2 separate regions of the Homo sapiens genome follow, and region 1 is linked to region 2. Evidence: promoter capture Hi-C in 16 types of primary human blood cells and fetal thymus (Javierre and others, 2016). All regions are on one chromosome and are shown on one strand. The core of a region is centred on a gene start or on the middle of the fragment in contact, and the rest is flanking DNA. Distances in the headings are between cores, read along the strand shown. Region 1 overlaps JADE3 (jade family PHD finger 3). Region 2 holds the start of SLC9A7 (solute carrier family 9 member A7).

Region 1 (4,768 bases), core at 1,285-3,784, 220 kb before region 2:
GTCAGTCATGAGGGCAGGGCCATCAAGAGCCAAGGTTGAAAAGCATGAGACATAGTTGGCTGAAGAAAGAACAAGTGAGGCACATCCACCTTTAAGAACACGACCACACTGATTTTCTGCCTGCCCTTTATCCCTCTCTCACTCTCTTCCTGTCCCCATATCCCAAATAAGTAGCCTAAAGTCAAAATTATATATACACTACAAGGAATGTTAAACAAAGCTCCTATATTGTGAAGGGTAAATAAAAATGCTTTGGACTAAAACTTCCAACGGTTCAAGTGTACTTCCCTGAGTATGGCCAATGACAGATAAAAAAGAAGCATCACCCTTCTGGGAACACACTAGCACTGGAGTGTAAGAAAAAAGGAAGACACAGTTAAGCACTTTAAGTCACAAACGAAGTGCTGAAAATGTAAACTTGAAAAGACAGCAATATAGCCAGTGACTGACATTCTTTTATGTGCCACAACATACAACATGCTACCAGGGGCTATCATGATTCCATAATGAATAAAGGTCAGGGCTACTGCCTTCAAGCTATTTACAATCTACTGAGGAGGTAGAAATCCAAATACAAGGCCACTCTGAGCAATTAAGAATAGCAGCAACAAAATTTTACATTAAAAAGCTCACAGAGTTCCACTTCTGGCATAACAGTGTGAGCAGCTCCATGGACGACCCTCTTCCCAGCAAAATTGGTGAAAGTTATTTCAATTAAAAAAAAACCAACCATTTAAAGTCTCTGGAAATGGTTTTAAGGGCATACAGCAAATGAAGTACTTATTCGAGAAAATCTACTAAAATTCATAAAGTAAAGTCAAAGTCTGCAGTATTTGGATCTAGAACCACTTCCTCCATCTTCCCTCCCAGCAAAGATCTCATGCCAGAGTACAGTAGCCAAGAACACAGGGTTCCTTCTACCCCAGCTCCAAGCTCCTTTCTTCCTGGGAAGAACAGGATGTCGGCATCTCTTATCCCGTTCCCAGCTACTTTTGCTGAGGCTACGTTCCAGGAGAATGTGGCTGAGAGGTGGGGGCTCCCTTCTTCCACCTAGCCCCCAACTCATGGGATGGAGGCTATGCCTTGGGTGTTGTGCCACCAAGAATACCAGAGCCTTGATTGCTCTGGCGTTACCTTGTGGGGTGGGGGTTCTATACCAGAAGAGGCAAACCTGGGAGACCTGGGGCTGACACTCAGAGGGAAGCTCACCATTTATCTCCATCCACTGCGCCAGAGCTGTGGCTCAAAGATTTTTCCCAGGGAGAGAGGCAGGGCATAGAATAGGGGGCTTCAATTCTCCTGCAATGAAACTGACTTCATTTGCAACTGAGTGTACAGAAGTTCAAGCCTAGGCTGCCTAATATGCCAGAGAGAACCAGAGAAAGAGACAGCAGGGAAAGAGCCTCTTGCGGTCAGAAGAAATCTCAAACACAGATCTCAGGAACTATCTTCAAAGGAGCCCTAATTTGATTGGATCAGTTTGTGGAGCAATTTATATTCCAGGACATGATTAAAACAACAGAGCAGCTGGGAATGGTGGCAGGCGCCTGTAATCTCAGCTACTCGGGAGGCTGAGTCAGGAGAACTGCTTGAACCCGGGAGGTGGAGGTTGCAGTGAGCTGAGATCGCGCCACTGCACTCCAGCCTGGGCGACAAGAGTGAAACTCCATCTCAAAAAAACAAAAACAAAACAAGAGCAACCAGTCAACAATTAGTAGACCATAACAGCATGGTGTGGTCAAGTAAAGAGACAGCCAAGGAGAGCCTCACCAAACCCACTGTCATCCCAGGGTGACTGTGGGCATACACAAGCTTGTACCCCCGAAGAGCAACATTAGAGGCTTCATACTGCAGGGTGAGAATGGGGGTTGAGGAAATAGACTTCAATAAAATAATCCAGGCAGTTACTAAAGCAGTAAACAAGCAAATAATAATAAAGAACCCTGGTGGAGGGGTAGTACCCACAATTGTTACAATATATTATCCAAAATGCCCAGTTTCCAACAAAAACTTAAGAGATATGCAAAGAAACAGGAAAGTATGACCCATACAACCACATGTCAGATTTAACAGGCAAAACCTTCAAATTAGCCATATAAATATGTTCGAAGAACTAAAGAAAACCATGATTAAAGAAGTAAAGGAAGGTATGATGACAATATTTTACAAAACAGAGACTATCAATAAAGAAATAGGAAGTATAAAAAATAACCAAATAGAAATTCTGGTGATGAAAGCACAATTGAAATGAAAAATTCACTGAAGGGCCTCAACAGTAGATTGAACAAGCAGAAAAAAGAATTAATGAACTTGAAGTAGGTCAACAGTGATTAGGCAAGTTGAAGAACAGATGGAAAAAAGAAGAAGAAACAGCCTCAGAGAAATGTAGAACATCATTAAGTTCATCAACATATACATAATGGGAGTACCAAAAGGAAAAGTGAATGAGAAAGGAGCAGAAAAAATATTAGAAAAACTCCCCAAATTTACTGAAAAACATTAATTTACATATTCAGGAAACTCAAAGAACTCCAAGTAGGATAAATGCAAAGAGATCCAGAAAGAGATTCCTCATAGTAAAATTACTGAAAGCCAAAGACAAGGAGAAAATCTTGAAAGCAGCCCGGGAAAAAAAACAACTCATCACTTACAAGAGAACTCCAATAAAATTAACAGCTAATTTCTCAGAAACAAAATTAGAAGACAGTGTGAAAACATATTGTGTCCTTTGGTGATTGGTTGCACATATCTGTGAATATATTAAAATAACTGAATTGTATACTTTAAGTGGGTAAGCTGCATGGTATACAAATTATATCTCAAAGCTGTCATTTAAAAAACTAATAAAATTAGTACAAGAATCAGAACCATTAACTAAGGTTCTGTTTGTCCTACAGTCAAAGTCAATTGAATATTTTTAAAAAAGAGCCTCCCATCACATAAATTTTTGGGGCTACATTTGGCTCTCTGGTGCAAAATTTCATTCAAATCTCTTCTGAAACGCAAACAAAACCAACAGTAACAACAAGACACTTCCTATTAAAAAGTAGTAGTGGGGAATTTAAAGTCACAATGAATGTAGAAATTTAAGCAGAAATAAAAGTAATACATTTTCTAACTATTCCCCACTGAATGCACAGATCTACTTAGAGTAGCACTTCATTTATCTGATATCATGGGGATGTTGCATATATAAAAATTGTTCAGATACACAGTATACCCAAATGTATAAAATCCTATTTTAATAGAAGCTTTTCTAAAACACCTATTAGTTTTCTAACGTTACAGTAACAAATTATCACAAACTCAGTGGCTTAAAACTACATAAATTTACTATCTTATAGTTTAGTGGGTCAGGATTTTGACACAGGTCTCACAGAGCTAAAATCAAGATGTCATCAGGACTGCGTTCCTTTCTAGAGGCTACAGGGGAGAACTCATTTCCTTGCCTATTACAGCTTTTAGAGGACACTCTTACTCCCTTGATCTTGGCTGTCTTCTTCCATCTTCAAGGCAAACAACACTGAATCTCTCTGATCCTGTTTCTGTCATCGCATCTCATTCTCTGACCCTTCTGTTCTGCTTCCCTCTTCCACTTTTAAGAACCCATGTAATTACATTGGACCCACCCAGATAATCCAGGATAATGTCCCTATTTTATAGTCAGCTAAATAGCAATCTTAACATATTCATAGGTTGCAGAGATTAGGACACGGACATCTCTGCCTACCACAACCTAATATACAAAATGTAACTCAAAATGGATCACAGACTTAAATGAAAAATGTAAAATTATAAAATATTTACAAAAAGCATAAGAGAAAGTCTTCAGGATCTAGGGCTAAGCAAAGAGTTCTCAGACTTGATACCTAAAGCATGATTGGCAAAGAAAAATGTGTTTTCATCAAAATTAAAGACTTTTGCTCTCAGAAGCATATCCAGGGCAACTTGAATCTATGCTGCTGGGTTGTGGTCTTCAAACTTGGCCCAAATAAACTATCTACTTATATTTTTAAAAAAACTTCTGCTCTGAGAAAGCCCCTGTTAAGAAGACGCAAAAGCAAGCAGAATGGGACAGAATATTTACACATATTACACACACGTGTAATATCAAATGCTGGAGAAGATGTGAAGAAACTATCACTCATACATTGCTGGTGGGAATGTAAAAAGGAATCGCTATTCTAGAAAATATTTTGGTCATTTCTTAGAAATATTATACATGTAATATTTATTATAAAACACATATCTGACAATGAACTTATATTACAGAATGCATAAGGAACTCTAAAAATTCAACAGTAAGGAAACAAATGACCTAATTAAAAATCAAGAGATGGGCCGGGCATGGTGGCTCGCACCTGTAATCCCAGCACTTTGGGAGGCTAAGGCGGACGGATCATTTGAGGTCAGGAGTTCGAGACCAGCCTGGCCAACATGGTGAAACCCCGTCTGTACTAAAAATACAAAAATTAGCTGGGTGTGGTGGCATGCACCTGTAATCCCAGCTACTCGGGAGGCTGAGGCATGAGAATTGCTTGAACCTGGGAGGCGGAGGTTGCAGTGAGCCTAGATTGCATCACTGTACTCCAGCCTGGGTGACAGCGAGACTCTGTCTCAAAAAAAAAAAAAAAAAAAAAAAAAATCAGCAGACATTTTACCAAAGAGGAACGCAAATGGCATTTAAGCCCGTGAAAAGACATTCAGTATCACCAGCCATTAGGGAAATGCCAGTTAAAACCACAAGATATTATTACATACTTATTAT
Region 2 (4,348 bases), core at 1,381-3,880:
ATTTACTTTCCAGAGTCCTCAAATAGTTGCTGCATGCATTCTGTTCACATTTTATAGCTGTATTCAGTAGCAGGTAATGGGTTTAGTGTGATTATTCTGTGTTAACTGAAATCAGAACTCCTGTATTATATAGGTTAGTTTTCACACATAAATATGTAGAGATAATGGAGTGTTTTCTTTGGTGTGTATTTGTGAATGGTTGGGACTAGTCTTTTCATACTCTACCCAAGGGAACTACTTTACATAATAAATACTCTTCTGGTTATCTATTGCTGTGGAAGAAACCACCCTCAAACTTAGTAGCTTAAAATAACACCAATCATTTTATTATGCTACAGTTGCAGATGTTGGTTAGGTTCAGCGACATGGTTCTTGCTTGGGGCCTCTCATATGTCTACAGTAAGATGGTGGCTGGGAATGAATTGATTTGAAGACTCATTCATTCACATGTGTGGCATTTGGGCTGGGAACACTCAAAAAGTTGGGTCTCCTGTGGCATCTACCTCTATTGCTACATGGTCTCTCTACATGGTTTCTTCAGTATGTCAGCTTCCAGGTAGCTAGATTTCTTTGTCTGTTTGTTTGTTTTTTTGTTTTTGGAGGCAGGGTCTCACTCTGTCACTCAGGCTGGAGTGCAGTGGTGCAATCTTGGCTCACTGCAACCTCTGCCTCCCAGGTTCAAGTGATTCTCGTGCCACCACCTCCCAAGTAGCTGGGATTACAGGCACACACCACCACACCCGGCTAATTTTTGTATTTTTAGTGGAGACAGGGTTTTGCCATGTTGGTCAGGCTGGTCTTGAACTCCTGACCTCAGGTGATCCGCCCGCCTTGGCCTCCCAAAGTGCTGGGATTACAGGCGTGAGCCACCGTGCCCAGCCTAGCTAGAGTGGAAAGTGACAGAATGAAACAGGCAGGAGCTAGATTACCTTTTATGACCTAGCCTCACAAATCACATAATCTCCATTACCACATTATATTCTTTGAGGGAGTCACAAAGGTCCACTGAGGTTCAAGGGGAGGGAACATAGATGCCCCTTCTTGATGGGGGATGGTAAGGTTCTGGGATTGGAAATATGATTGTGGCCATCTTTTTAAAAAATACAATCCGCCACAAATACTAAGAAGTCTGTACTTTTAAGGTAGCTCCTGAGTTGCCCTTTTCTAAAGAGAGAAATTCTGTCCTTGAGTACTGGGCACCCAAAGGGGCATAATATTATGACCAACACAGTGCCCATCCAGGTTTTAAGTATTTGCAATTTTATTGGAAACCTGTGTGGAACTTCAAGGTATACGGATGTTTGCAGGGGCTGAGTGACTGCCTAGAGGAGTTGGGAAAGGGGCTAGCTAAAATGTAGATGAAGAGATTTCCCTGCTTTAAAGAAACCACTAAACAGCTTTGGCAGAGTGCTCACCTACAGGGGAACCAGGAAGGCTGCAGTACTCCAAAGAGTTTTCTTACCTAATGCTACCTCTACCCTATTATTTCATTTGGTTAAGCATCACCTTCTTCAATGAATCCTCTTAAAAATGCAAACTCCCCTGGGAGCGAAAACATGGGCAGTTTTGGTAGAGATTTCAGAGTGGTTCAATAAACACATGAGTACAGTGCTAAGCACTGGGAACTCAGTGATTAATCTGATCTTGTTTCTTCCTTGACCAGAGGAGCAAGGTGGATTGAAGATTCTAGTTTTCCTGAGAATTTGTTCCAAGAGGCTTCATCCTTCAGAGTCCACGCCATAATTTTGTTCAGAGCTGGGTTTGGTCTTAAGAGTCATTAAAAGACTCTCTGAGCTACCAGGTGAGCAACATAAAAGAAAGGGTCATCAGGGTAACCCCCACCCCCCACCACCACCTTAGGACCAGCTACTGCTCATCTACCAGGAATGGCAAGCGTTCAGTTCCTTCTGGTTCAACCCTATTCCCCAAGGGGATTAGTAGCACAGCGCAGACGAAGTCTATTCCCTCAAGTGAGGAAGGAGATACTTCAATGCCCTCCCCCGATTCCAACTCCTTATCAGTCCTCACATTTGAGTCTGATGAGAACAGAGGTTTGAATGAAACCTAGCAGATTCTGGGGCTGGAAGGGCAACCTGAGAGATGAGGAAAGAGAGGTGTAGGGGCTAACGTGGCTTCGGGGCTGCTCGGTTCACTGACAGCCCCCACTTTACTGGGCCCAGGGCGGCTGCACACTGGCCTGAGATTAAACACTTCGCCGTGGCGCCAGAGACGGGACTCGAGACCGCAAGGCTAGTCACTCCAAGCCGATGCTCCCGCTAGGCGCCGGCGACCTCTGGCGTCCCCTTTCGGAAGTGCGGCGGCGGCTGCCCATGAACTGGCCCCACGACCCCAGACTGCCTGGGCAGGTGCGCCAGGACGGGGTGAGAAGCGCAGAGAGGCAAGCAGCCGGCGGCCGGCCCGCAGACCCGAGGGCAACACCCGGCCCCGCCTGGGTGGCTCGGTTGGCCCGCGGGGCGGTGCGGCGTGGCGCGGCCGGGGGACGAACAGGTGCGCGGGCGGGGGGCGGTGCTTGGGGATCCTGCGCACTGCGCGCGCCCCTCCCCCGCGCGGCCCCGGGCGCAGCCCCGGCCCGGCGCGAGTAGGAGGAGGAGCTGCAGCGGCCACGGCCACTCCGGCAGGTCCGCGGTGCTGCCAGAACCCGCCGACGGCGCGGGCTGCTGGTCCCCGCTCGGAGGAGGCGCGGGGGGCCCCGGGACCATGGAGCCTGGTGACGCGGCGCGCCCTGGCTCGGGTCGGGCTACCGGGGCGCCGCCGCCGCGGCTGCTGCTGCTGCCGCTGCTGCTGGGTTGGGGGCTGCGAGTCGCGGCCGCGGCCTCGGCCTCCTCCTCTGGGGCGGCGGCGGAGGACAGCAGCGCCATGGAGGAGCTCGCTACTGAGAAGGAGGCGGAGGAGAGCCACCGGCAAGACAGCGTGAGCCTGCTCACCTTCATCCTGCTGCTCACGCTCACCATCCTCACCATCTGGCTCTTCAAGCACCGCCGGGTGCGCTTTCTGCACGAGACCGGGCTGGCCATGATCTATGGTGAGCACCCCTGTTACACCCCCCGCCCTCCACACCCCTCGGCCGCCGCGCTCCTCCTGGCGCCGCGCGGTGCTCCCCCTTCACTTGCCAACGTGTTCCGTTTCTTTTACGTTTCCCGCTGCGACGGTGTTGGTTCCCAAGGTCAACTGTCTGCATTTTCTGGCTCTCTGCTACCGTTAAAAACAATTCCACCCCTATTCCACGTTTCTGCATTGGGAACCCAGGAAAATGAAAGGGACAGAGGTGGTCCGGTTCCGTCTGCCCCGTTCGGTCTCTGTTGCAAACCTCTTACCCACCACCTCCCGCTCCAGTTGAGCTCGATAGGGTGTGTGTGCCTGCGTGGTGGCTGGAGGTGGGTGGCTTCCCAGGTGACTGCATCACCTCAGGGGACAGGCCACAGTAGGGAGTGGGGACGAAGTCTGAAAGTGTCTTTGCTTGGGTATGGGTTAGTGGGGCCTCTTGGACGCCACATCCATGGTCAGCCTGGGTGGGTACCCACTCCTGAGGTCCACATTCCCAGGTCTCTTAATGATAAAGTCAGAGCATGAAGTGTGGTGAAAGGTGAGCAGTGGTCCAGGACCCAGAGTGGGTGGCACCACCATGTCAGGCCTGGACGAGGAGACAGGCACGCCTCCTGCTCTTATGTCCCGAGTGGAAAGTTATACCCAGTTACTTGCTTTCTCAAACGAAGAGGAGCTTTTGTATTCCTAAGACGGTAACAGGGAGTGAGTTTGAGATACATTTCCGAATGTATGAAGGGGAAAAGTCGTGGTTTTAATTCCGGAGTCAGCCATCTTTTGTTGTTAGGGGTGGGCTGATGCTACCATCCTTTTCTAGATTTAATGGTACACAGTGTGTTACATGCACAGTGGTCAGTACAAATCTCCCTTTATTACATGGATGTCAGCCATAATCTGAGTCATCCCTCTTCCTCTTCTGTGCCCCCTGCCTCCCCCCTCGCCCTGCCCATGACTCCAAAGTGGAGTCAGGTATTCTCTTTTTGAATGTAATTCAGTGGTGTTAAAGCCCCTGAATTGGCATCCTCACACGAAATAGACGAGCCACTTCATGATTGTTCCCAACGGGGAAAATTTTATTTTATCACATATACTGAGGGATTTCTTTATTCAGTTTCCATCCAGGTGCCCTGATAGAGAATGGAAAGCAGAAACCTTAACCTTTAATGTGAAAATTACCCTTGGTTCTGGGCCTTGCTTCTCATGTTTCTTGATTAGTTGTTGACAGCCGGGGCTCATGGCCACCAGGCCCTCGCAGCCAAACCGTGTAAGGGGCAAGCGCTGTTAA

What was found. Contacts are between HindIII fragments. The CHiCAGO score rates a contact against its expected background, and 5 or more counts as called.
Region 1: a fragment that was not itself captured here is called in contact with the fragment with the promoter of SLC9A7 in region 2 in 1 of 17 cell types (neutrophils); the score reaches 5.4 in neutrophils.

The regions. Positions count from the first base shown.
Region 1 is chrX:46,979,751-46,984,518 of GRCh38, reverse strand. The region is part of intron 1 of JADE3 (jade family PHD finger 3); the gene reads right to left. Among named protein-coding and RNA genes, the nearest start is that of JADE3, 70 kb to the right of the region's middle. The HindIII fragment of the contact is 1,439 bases long and covers 1,815-3,253 here.
Region 2 is chrX:46,757,400-46,761,747 of GRCh38, reverse strand. SLC9A7 (solute carrier family 9 member A7) reads left to right here and starts at 2,630. Exons shown (of 17, transcript NM_001257291.2): 1 at 2,630-3,043. The coding sequence starts at 2,719. RefSeq lists silencers at 2,349-2,698, 2,719-2,858. The HindIII fragment of the contact is 14,531 bases long and covers 1-4,348 here.